Regions from separate parts of the Homo sapiens genome. Here all the other regions are linked to region 2. The links are contacts of gene promoters, found by promoter capture Hi-C in blood cells and fetal thymus (Javierre and others, 2016). All regions are on one chromosome and are shown on one strand. The core of a region is centred on a gene start or on the middle of the fragment in contact, and the rest is flanking DNA. Distances in the headings are between cores, read along the strand shown. Region 1 overlaps LOC124902072 (a long non-coding RNA gene). Region 2 holds the start of DNAAF11 (dynein axonemal assembly factor 11). Region 3 holds the start of NCRNA00250 (non-protein coding RNA 250).

Evidence for each region. The method cuts DNA at HindIII sites, captures the fragments that hold promoters and counts their contacts. A CHiCAGO score of 5 or more calls a contact.
Region 1: a fragment that was not itself captured here is called in contact with the fragment with the promoter of DNAAF11 in region 2 in 1 of 17 cell types (monocytes); the score reaches 5.9 in monocytes.
Region 3: a contact is called between a fragment that was not itself captured here and the fragment with the promoter of DNAAF11 in region 2, in 1 of 17 cell types (total CD8 T cells). The highest score is 5.7, in total CD8 T cells.

The regions. Positions count from the first base shown.
Region 1 is chr8:134,722,750-134,726,002 of GRCh38, forward strand. LOC124902072 (a long non-coding RNA gene) reads left to right here. Exons shown (of 2, transcript XR_007061187.1): 2 at 703-1,161. It also overlaps a transcript of ZFAT not described here. Among named protein-coding and RNA genes, the nearest start is that of ZFAT, 11 kb to the left of the region's middle. The HindIII fragment of the contact is 7,755 bases long and covers 1-3,253 here.
Region 2 is chr8:132,673,709-132,677,217 of GRCh38, forward strand. It overlaps DNAAF11 (dynein axonemal assembly factor 11), which reads right to left and starts at 1,837. Exons shown (of 12, transcript NM_012472.6): 1 at 1,776-1,837. The coding sequence starts at 1,785. LOC105375767 (a long non-coding RNA gene) reads left to right here and starts at 1,922. Exons shown (of 2, transcript XR_928665.4): 1 at 1,922-2,097; 2 at 2,184-2,350. The HindIII fragment of the contact is 7,589 bases long and covers 1-2,303 here.
Region 3 is chr8:134,835,140-134,838,453 of GRCh38, forward strand. NCRNA00250 (non-protein coding RNA 250) reads left to right here and starts at 2,930. Exons shown (of 3, transcript NR_126028.1): 1 at 2,930-3,170. The HindIII fragment of the contact is 273 bases long and covers 1,303-1,575 here.

The sequences.
Region 1 (3,253 bases), core at 297-2,796, 2.0 Mb after region 2:
CTTGAGGGGCTTACAACGTGTTATTGACTGAACTGTGCCCCCCTTAACTCGTATGTTGAAATCCTGACCCCCAATACTTCCAAATGTGACTGCATTTGGAGAAAGGGCCTTTAAAGAGGTTATTAAGGTAAAGGGAGGTCATGAGTGGACTCTAATCCAACATGGCCAGGGTCATATTCCAAAAGTGGAAATTAGGACAGAGACACACAGAAGACACAGAGAAAAGGTGGCCATCTACGAGCCACCTTCTACAAGAGAGGCCTCAGAATGAACCCAACCCTGCTGACACCTTGATCTTGGACTTCTAGCCACCAGAATGGTGAGGACATAAATTCCTGTTGCTTAAGCCACCCAGTCTGTGGTATTCGTTACAGCAGTCACAGAAAAATAGTACACAGGCCTTGAGAAACAGACGTGAACACTGCTCCAATCCCTGGAGTAACAGGGATTCCTGTGAGCTGCCTGACTGCAGGCAGCACTGTCAGCATCCCCATCCCCCAGGATCGCCTGGGACCTCCCTCTTATCACATCGCTCCACCTCAGCTCCTTGGCAGCCAGGCCTCCAGCGGGAGGCAGAGGGCATCCTCAAGCTGGGCAATTGGAGGAGCATTTAATGAAGGGGCTCTTTACAAAGGTGTGGGCAGGGTTTTGGGAGGTCAGAGAGGAATGATGCAGCCCTTCTGCAACCTCGCCTCACCCCAGGCCTGCAGGCATGCGGAGGGAGTGCCCGCTGGAACCCAGGGCCAGGACAGGGCCTGTGCAGAGGAGTCCACCTTCAGCAAGACGGACCACCAATACTCTGCGACTTAGAGAAGGAGACTGAGGAATAAATGCCCAGACCGTACTCCGCTCCTGCCCTCCTGGTTTCCTGCCAGAGTCTCCCCTTGTCTGAAGCCAACCTGAAGACACCCCTTGAGGACCCCTTCACTGTACTGGGACCATGGGGGGCTGAGCCTCTGGGATCAGTCACCTCCCTAACCTCCTGCATGAGGAACAACTTGACGAACACACATTTCAACCTGTAACAGGGTGGACAAGCAGAACCCTTCTTCAGAAGCACATTTATGAAGTTCCCGCAGTAACTGGCTCAGAGAGAAATGCTGCTGTAACAGCTGAGAGAAAACTGATAACCCTGAAAATAAAGTGTCCATGGAAATCTCATATATTGCCTATTGTTTAAAAACAATGTCTCACATAAAAGAGGTGATGGATTAGTTTCTTTCATTATGCTGCCTCAAGCTATCTACGTGGACAAAAACCTACGCAGCTGCTTTTACACTTTAGAGCTAGACTTGATTCACTTCCATTCTTAGGAGTCAGGGGTGGCATTTGGTGGGCATCTCTTGATGCAGAATCTTATGCCAGTTTCTATAAGCAGGCTCAGGTGCCATCTGCATAGGAACTCCAGAGGGTGGACATGTAAAGAAACTTTGGGACTGTGCATTGGTCACCATCTTGGAGGGTGATGGCAGCTGCCCTGTAAATTATTGGGTAGGCATCTTGAGAGGCAGGGAGATGCAGTGAGCTCCAAGCCCAGTCAAGGCATAGCAGAAGGAAGGACAATGGAACACAGGTGACCCAGGGTGACATTTGTCAATAGATACAGCATGGACACTGGCTAATCAGAAAGAACGCATGCCCCTGATGTGCCAGGGGTTACTCCTTTAATTTTAGAAGCTGAGAAAGAAGGTCCTAGGAGTTTGGGGCCAGTGGGCTATACTGCCAAGAGTATGGGGACACAGGGCCAGGGCTTAAAGAGGTGCTATTTACTAAATCACTAAATAGGGAAAGATTTCGTTAGTATAATAACCACCATGGCCATAACTCATGTATATGGGTTGAACAGCAGCCCTGCTGGTAGGTGGCCAACTGGTCTCGGGTGGTCTGGGCCTTTCCTGGTTTCGTCACTTAAAGTCCCAGAACCTCTTTAGCCTGCCCTGGGTATCATTCTATCAGTTACGTTACCTGCCAGTCAAGTTACACAGTGCAGGCTAGAAGCTCTCAAAGGGGAGCTGTCTATAGCAAGGGGGAGAAACTCGCCTCCCTTCCCCTTACAGAGTCAAGATTACCATGGGCTGTGGGGGAATTCACCCCACACTCCCCAGTTAAAGCGCTTCTCCCTTTGCGAACTGAAGTCCAAGCAGTTCTCACCCATGGAAGTCCTTGGCAACCAAGCTCACCTCTCCACCTGTGCTCTCCACCGCAAGCTCAGTTGCAGTTGCACCTCTGCAGGTTCTTTAAAGCCCCTCCCTGGGGCCTTGCTTGAGAAAACAGCCCCCCATCTGCTCCTACCCCTGCTCCTCTTTGCAGATCTCCCTCCAGCTCTCTGGGCTGGAGGTAACCTCCACAGAGAAGGCTTCCCCAACCCTGCAGATTAAGGCTACCATCCTTCCTGCCCGTTTCCTGGGCACACTGTACCGCCCCATCCCACATATCGTTATGGCTCGTTTAACTACTTTCTCCCTCAGAACTGTAAGCTGCCTCAGGGCACAAGTTCAAGCGCCTGGCAAAGAGTGGTGTATTAGTCTGATCTCAGACGGCTTTCAAGAAATATCTGAGACTCGGCCATTTATAAAGAGGATGAATTGGCTCATGGTTCCACAGGCTGTTCAGGAAGCATAGCACTGGCATCTGCTCAGCTTCTGGGGAAGCCTCAGGAAACTTACAATCATGGCAGGAGATGAAGGGGGAATGGGCACATATTACATGGCCAGCGTAGGAGCAAGAGAGGGACGGGGAGAGGTGCTACACGCTTTTCTACAGCCAGATCTCATGAGAACTCTATCACAAGAACAGCAGCAAAGGTATGGTGCCAAACCATTCACAAAGGATCCACCGCCACGATCTAATCACCTCCCATCAGGTCCCACCCTCAACACTGGCGATTACAATTCAACGTGAGATTTGGATGGGGACACAGAGCCAAACTGTATCAAGTGGGCCTCCCATACATATTGAATGAACGAAGCAACTAGATAGGAGTTAAAGAAAGTGGCATGGGCAAACCAGAGCCCTTTTTGGTAAGTTAATTAAGTCATTGGTCCTATGCACATATAAACAGGAAAAGCTCTGCCTTCAGCTCACCACTGTGAAGCCAGGCTGGGTTGGGAAAGAAGCAGAGAGCCAGGACTCAGTAATTACCGTGTGGCGGTCAACTGTTCATTAATCCGTTCAATTCATTCATTCATTCTATCAATGAATTAATTAGTGGACTTATTCCATTAACTTATTCCATTAATTCATTCTTCTCCTT
Region 2 (3,509 bases), core at 587-3,086:
TTCCTCAGAGAAGCCTCCACCCACCTTGGGGTTAGGTCCCCTACCCACACCCTCAGGGCACAGGCACCCCTCTCTCTCCTGGCTGTAACCACTATACTTCTGTTTGTCTTCTCCCTCCCTAGGAGGGTAGGCCCACATCTGCCTCCTTCCTCACTGTATCCTGCATTCAATACCTGATTCAAGGTAGACACTCCGATGCAAGTCTGACAAGTTAATGATTTAACAAATCAAAGTGGGCACGACTCAGAGAAAGAGGGCAAAGGAAAATTCCCGACATAAAAAAGCGAAGAAGAAGGAGAAGGAGAAGGAGGAGAAGGAGCAGGAGGAGCAGGAGCAGAAGGAGCAGGAGGAGGAGGAGCAGGAGGAGGAGGAGCAGGAGGAGGAGGAGCAGGAGGAGGAGGAGCAGGAGGAGGAGGAGGAGGAGGAGAAGGAGGAGGAAGAGGAGGAGGAGAAGGAGAAGGAGGAGGAGGAGAAGGAGGAGGAGGAGAAGGAGGAGGAGAAGGAGGAGGAGGAGAAGGAGAAGAAGAAAAAAACCAACTAGGGTGAGACCAGGGGATGGGGAGACAGCCCTGAGAAGAGAGGAAGAAATATCAGTAGCTGATTTAGGAAAGGAGTTTCAACATTTACAAATCACTCCCCCCCGACCCCCACCTCTCCCACTTGCAGGCTGTCAGGTCTTCCAGGGCAGAAAGCCCATCATCTGGAGCAGTCTCTTGATTTAAAAAAAGTTAATTATGACATTTTTACAATGATAAGTGATCAATTAGGTAGAGCTGTACAAAACTGCCATATGGGGAGCTCAAAAACGTTGTCGATATCAAAATGGTTCATACAATATAAATAACTTACCCGCATCACCTTGCAGTTTGTTAGTATATTCTTAAAGAAACACGTTTACTACCGGGCGCAGTGGCTCACGCCTGTAATCGCAGCACTTTGAGAGGCCGAGGCGGGCGGATCACCTGAGGTCAGGAGTTCGAGACCAGCCTGGCCAACATGGCAAAACCCCGTCTCTACTAAGAATACAAAAATTAGCCTGGCGTGGTGGTGCACGCTGTAATCCCAGCTACTCAGGTGGCTGAGGCAGGAGAATTGCTTGAACCCGGGAGGCGGAGGCTGCAGTGGGCCGAGATCGCGCCGCTGCACTCCAGCCTGGGCGACAGAGCAAAACTCTTGTCTCAAACAAACAAACAAAAACACGTTTATAACACTTACTGTGTCTAAAACAGTAGTATGATTGCCATTATTTTGGAGATGAAGAAGCTGAGGCCCAAGGGGTGAAGTCACTCGCTCAAAGTCACAGGAAGAGGGAGGACTTCAACCCTGGCTCCAGAGTCGGAACCCTCCACCATTAGGCTACACTGCCTTCCGGAATGAGTCCGAAGATTGCGGCTTGGAGACAGTGACTGGCCCACGTTCACAGCCAGTAAGGAGCCACTTGGCCGGAACGTGGTGTGTCTGGCGCCAAAACCCCTGCACGTTCCCCGACCCCTTTCCTGGAGTCCAGTGCCTTTCTGCCTCTTCCTCCCCTTCCCACGGCCCCGCCCATTTTACAGATTAGGAACCTGAGCTGGAAAAGGCCAGGCTGTCCGGCCAGTCTGCAGAGGACCTGGTGCAGCCGGGGCTGCGGTGCGGAGGGCCGGGTGGGGTTAGGGTCCGCCCAGGCGCGGGGGAACCGACAGCGCAGGGCGGGAGCGGGCGGCGAGGATCCCACGAGACCCGGGACTACTTCCACAAGGGGAACGATCGAGGACGGAAGGTGGAGGGGGGCTTACTCCAGCCCATGGCGCCTCTCCAGTTCGCTGACCCCGCAAGCCGGACCCGGACCTCGAATGACGCTTTTCACCCTTCACCCCTGCTCCTCAGCGCGTCCCCGTCGGAATTCAGGAGCCATGGCAACGGGGACTCTACGGCGGCCGCGCGGGACCAAAACAAGCCGCGTTTCCTGAGCTCCGCGGAGCAAGCAGAGGAGACCGCAGTGAAGGGGCTCAGCAGACAGGGGTTCCCCAACCCAAACCCAGTCTTCGTCCTCGTCGCACTTCCGACTTGCCACAGACTGCTTCCCTCTCCCTGAATCAATGGTTTAGAGTGAACAAAGTATGAGGACGCTTCTCTTTTCTGTGCCTTCCAGGCTTGCCTTCCAGACCGCCTTTGACTTTTTCCTTTTTGTGTTTGATTTACAGCTTCCAGAGCCAACAGATCTGGATTTGGCCCCCAACTCTACCAGCGGCGTGACCTTACACTTCCTTCTCCTCAGTTTGCACATCTGTAAGATGAGAAATAACCTAAGAGGATCACTGTGAAGCTTTAATTAGATAATTTGAGTGAATGAAAGACACTATGAAAACAACAGGCTCACTATAAAGATTCGTTGTCGTTGTCATATTCCAGCTTTTTAAAGTCACTCTCCAACACTCGTTTCCGGCTAACAAGCTTTCCAGAAACGCCACCCATTACCCCCTCCATCAATTTCCCTATTCTCCACTCTCTTAATTGTAAAATGTAGGAAGTATATCTCCTACAGCCCCACACTCCCCTCACGTTTCCCCAGACCCTTCTCCAAAAGTGTGCAACGCGCCTTCTCCCATTCTAAACTAGGAAGCACATCAGCAAGCTCATTCACCCTCAGATCTTAGTGTTAGCACTTTAATGCGTTAGCTTCCCAAGAATCTTTAAAAGGTACCATTATTATGAAAGTAATTATTATTCTTTACTCCATTTGCAGAAAAAGGAGGGGGGCAATATGTAAAAGGTAAAACCTTCTCCCATCCCAGTCGTTTTAAACAGTATGGAGTGCGTGCTTCTTATCTTGATGTGTGTATTATGTTTGCATTTTAAAAGAAGATTCCTAGAGCAATGCTGAGTGCAAAGAAATTAATTTTTCTAGCGAATAGCTGTTAAGCATTTACAGCTGGCAATTATTAGAGTTTGCCAGGTAGAGACAAGGTCATGAACTTGGACAGAGAGGCAGGAAAGTCTAACAGAGTGAGGTGATGGGGGGAAGCAGAAACATCAGTTTGGCAATAAAGAGAGCTAGATAGAAGGGATCTTCGAACAGTAAGAATGAGAGATTAGATCGGGGGTAATGGGGGCCTTAAATGCCAGGCCAAAGGAACTGAACTGGAAGAGTGGGATTTCAGGCACTATTTCCCTGAATATTTGGATTTCCAAGGAGGCCTCCCAAAAGGCACTCAAACTATAAACTTACCTGACATCCACTATTATTTTTCTGAAAGCAGGTTAGTGTGAGGTGAACAGTATTAGCTCTGGCATTGGAAACATAGATTAAATACACAGATTTATTACTGTGTGGCATCAGACAGATGACTTCACCTTTGAAAGCTGAAACTTCTCTATTTCCACATGATGATGACAATATGGGTAAACATCTGTGGTCGTGCCACTGACACGCTGACACTGACACGTGACACTGAGCACTGATGTCTGATTACTCACAAAGGAGATGAAATGCTATTAGCAGCAGGCAAGTTTAGCAAATTCGCCTGTGC
Region 3 (3,314 bases), core at 189-2,688, 2.2 Mb after region 2:
AGATGTCTCTTGGTATTTAATAGGCAATCCTCAAAAAGTTGGATTAAAAAAAATGCCACTGTGTGTGTGTGTTTAAGTACCTTATTACTAAGAGAGAAAGAACATTCAGTTCCCATTTTAGGGGCTCTCCTGCTCCAGGATTACTGAGGGTCCTCTGGAGTGTGCATGGGCTCAGGTGAGGTTATAAGCACATCCTTGACAGGAGGGTGCTTCTATCAGGGAAGGCCAATATCTTTCCGAGAACGTAAGCTTGTGGGAGGAGGTGGTAAACGAGGAAGCAGTGGGGACATGAAGTGAGAACGCAGTACTCAGCCAGACCAGCTCAATCAGTCCTGGTGATGAACAAGGTGAATCAGCTGCACTACCCTTACGGCCTGTTAGGACTGATGTATTCAAATTAGGCAGCTGCATGCACAGTATGCACTGCACAAACCCAGGGAAGCTATTTGCATGGGAGTCTGTGAATGGCATCCTCTGGGACTGTGCAGTGCTCAACCTCTATGAACATATGTAGCAGTCCTGAGTGACATGTACATGGCATGTCTCTGTCTACTTTGGCAATCTAAATTATCCTGATGATATCTTCGATAATAGAAATAAACATTTGTGGGATATCTACCAATTGTCATCTCAAAAACTTATTTTAATGTACAAATTTTATATCTAAAGATTTGCGCATGTTTCAAAATGCTTATTAGACTGATGTCATTACCATTCATTTATTCTAAAAAATGACAATTGAGCTGCTAAGTTTCAGGCATGATTCAAAAGCCTGGTTCTATAAATGTATTGAGCACCAACTACAAATCTTAGAAACACCATTAACTGATTTCTTTAAAATATCAGCTTATGTTTATGTTTTTTTCAGTTTATGCCATTTTATAATATGAAGATGTCCTCTATATCCTCTTTTTTAGAGATGGAATCTGGCTCTGTTGCCCAGGCTGGAGTGTAGTGGCACGATCTCGGCTCACTGCCACCTCCACCTCCAGGGTTCAAGCACTTCTCCTACCTCAGCCTCCTGAGTAGCTGGGATTACAGGTGCCTGCCACCATGTCTGGTTAATTTTGTATTTTTAGTAGAGATGGGGTTTCACCATGTTGGCCATGCTGGTCTCGAACTCTTGACCTCAAGTGATTTGCCTGCCTCAGCCTCCCAAAGTGCTGGTATTACAGGCATGACCCACCGTGCCTGGCCTCTAAATCCTCTTTATTTCATAGACAATCATCTATTAAAATCTGGAGATGAAATGTTCTTTCATTTCAGACAATTCAATATAGTAGGATGCCTCAGTGAATATAAAGCTTTTACATAATTTTTTTCCTCCTGGCGTTATCAGAAGAGGTAACAGAAAGTTAAGTTGGCTTTGTTAGGAGTCTCCTGGGAGCCCTAGGGAAAGCTACCTTAGTAGAGTGGGTGCAAGACCCCACTGGCCAGAAAAGAGTATAATTATGCTTTGAGCCCTGGATCATTCTGTAGAGGAAAGCTGCCCTCCAACCAGAAACATCTAATTTAGATGGTTATATGAGCGAGAAATAACTGAAAATTTGTTTGTTTGTTGTTGTTATAGCAGCAAGCTTTACTCAATGAATTAATTGGAAAAGTAAATAATATGACCATATTTGCACCCCAAATTTGTGGAGCTGCTCATACTAACAATTTTAAATTCTTTTTTTTCAATAGCTTTTAGGATACAAGTCATTTTTGGCTACATGGATGAGTTATATAGTGATGAATTCTGAGATTTCAGTGCTCCCATCACCCAAGTAGTGTACATTGTACCTAATGTGTAGTGTTTTTATCCCTGGCTCCCCACTCCCACCCTCTTGCTTCTGAGTCCATTATATATAAATGATATAAAGTGATATAAAGTCCATTATGTCACTCTGTATGCCTTTGCATATTCTAATAATGTTAAACTCTTAATTTCTGAACATGCAATTAAGTGAGCCTCTGCCTCTAGTAGTCTTTACAGTTGACCCTTGAACCACCCGGTTTGAACTTCGTTGAGCTGCTATACTTGGATTTTCTTCTGCCTCTGCCATTGCTGACAGTACAACCAACCTCTCCTCTTTCTCCTCTTCCTCATCCTACTCAACATGAAGATGATGAGGATGGAGAGCTTTATGATGATCCACTTCCACTTAATGAAGAGGAAATATATTTTCTCTTCCTTACGATTTTTTCATTAATGTTATTTTCTCTGGCTTACTTTATTATAAGAACACAGTATATAATACATATAACAAAATATGGGTTAATCGACTGTTTATGTTATCAGTAAGGCTTCTGGTTAACAGTAGGCTACTAATGGTTATGTTTTTGGGGATTCAAAAGTTATGCTTGGGAGTTTTGACTGCGCATACAGGGGTTGTTCCCCTAGTTCAAAGGTCAGCTGTATTACATGGCTTCCAGGTCTTTGATGGCTGTGCTATGCATGAGTGTCACTGCTGGAAAACTGTTATGTGCAGTTCCAGAAGCTGACATACTTAGTTAAAAAAAAAAAGGGTTGGGGGGGGCTACTCAGGAGGAATCAATACACACATACATATGTTGAATCACACAGACACTCACGTACTCACATACACACACACACACACACACGTACTCACACATGCTACACAATAGTAGGATGCAGAGTTCCATCATTTGAAACTCTGGAAAAACTTTCACCATTTTTACTATTATTACCAGCATCAACATCTTTCTCGCCATTGTAAGTCAAGACATTGGAAAAAGTCTGAAACAATAATCTTGACTATTCACAGTAACTCCGGAACAATGAAGGAGGAAGAATGAATGAGTTGCGCCCTGAAGATGGTGGGCTCTCCTTTATGCATGATCATCACGATCTCTCTGCAATGTCTGTCCTGTGACCTCGTGAGGTGTGCAGCGTCATGCCAGACATCTGTGTTTGGATGGCCCTCTGGCTCCTCCACAATTACTGCAGAGTCAGAAGTGGAATTTCCGCCTGATGTTTTATGTCAAAATCAGTATGAAAGACTGCAGCATGCTGAGTGAGCTTTCCGTTCTCGCTGAGATGCAATGCAGGGTCCACCCTCTGCAGGCCACAATTTTGCCTGGAGGCAAAGCATTCAGTCTTTCCATTGGCCTGACAATTTGAGCCAAGCTTTGAGGCCAACAGACAAAATGCACTAGCAACTGGAGAGGTGAGTTTTGTTAAATTACAATAACATCCATGCATCCAGGGGAGCTGCAAAAGTCATTCCTGTTCCTGTCAGATGCACTCAAAATCAACAGCCAAATTATTCCTGCCAAATGCTCTGAGGCTATTGAATAGAGTCTTGCACTAT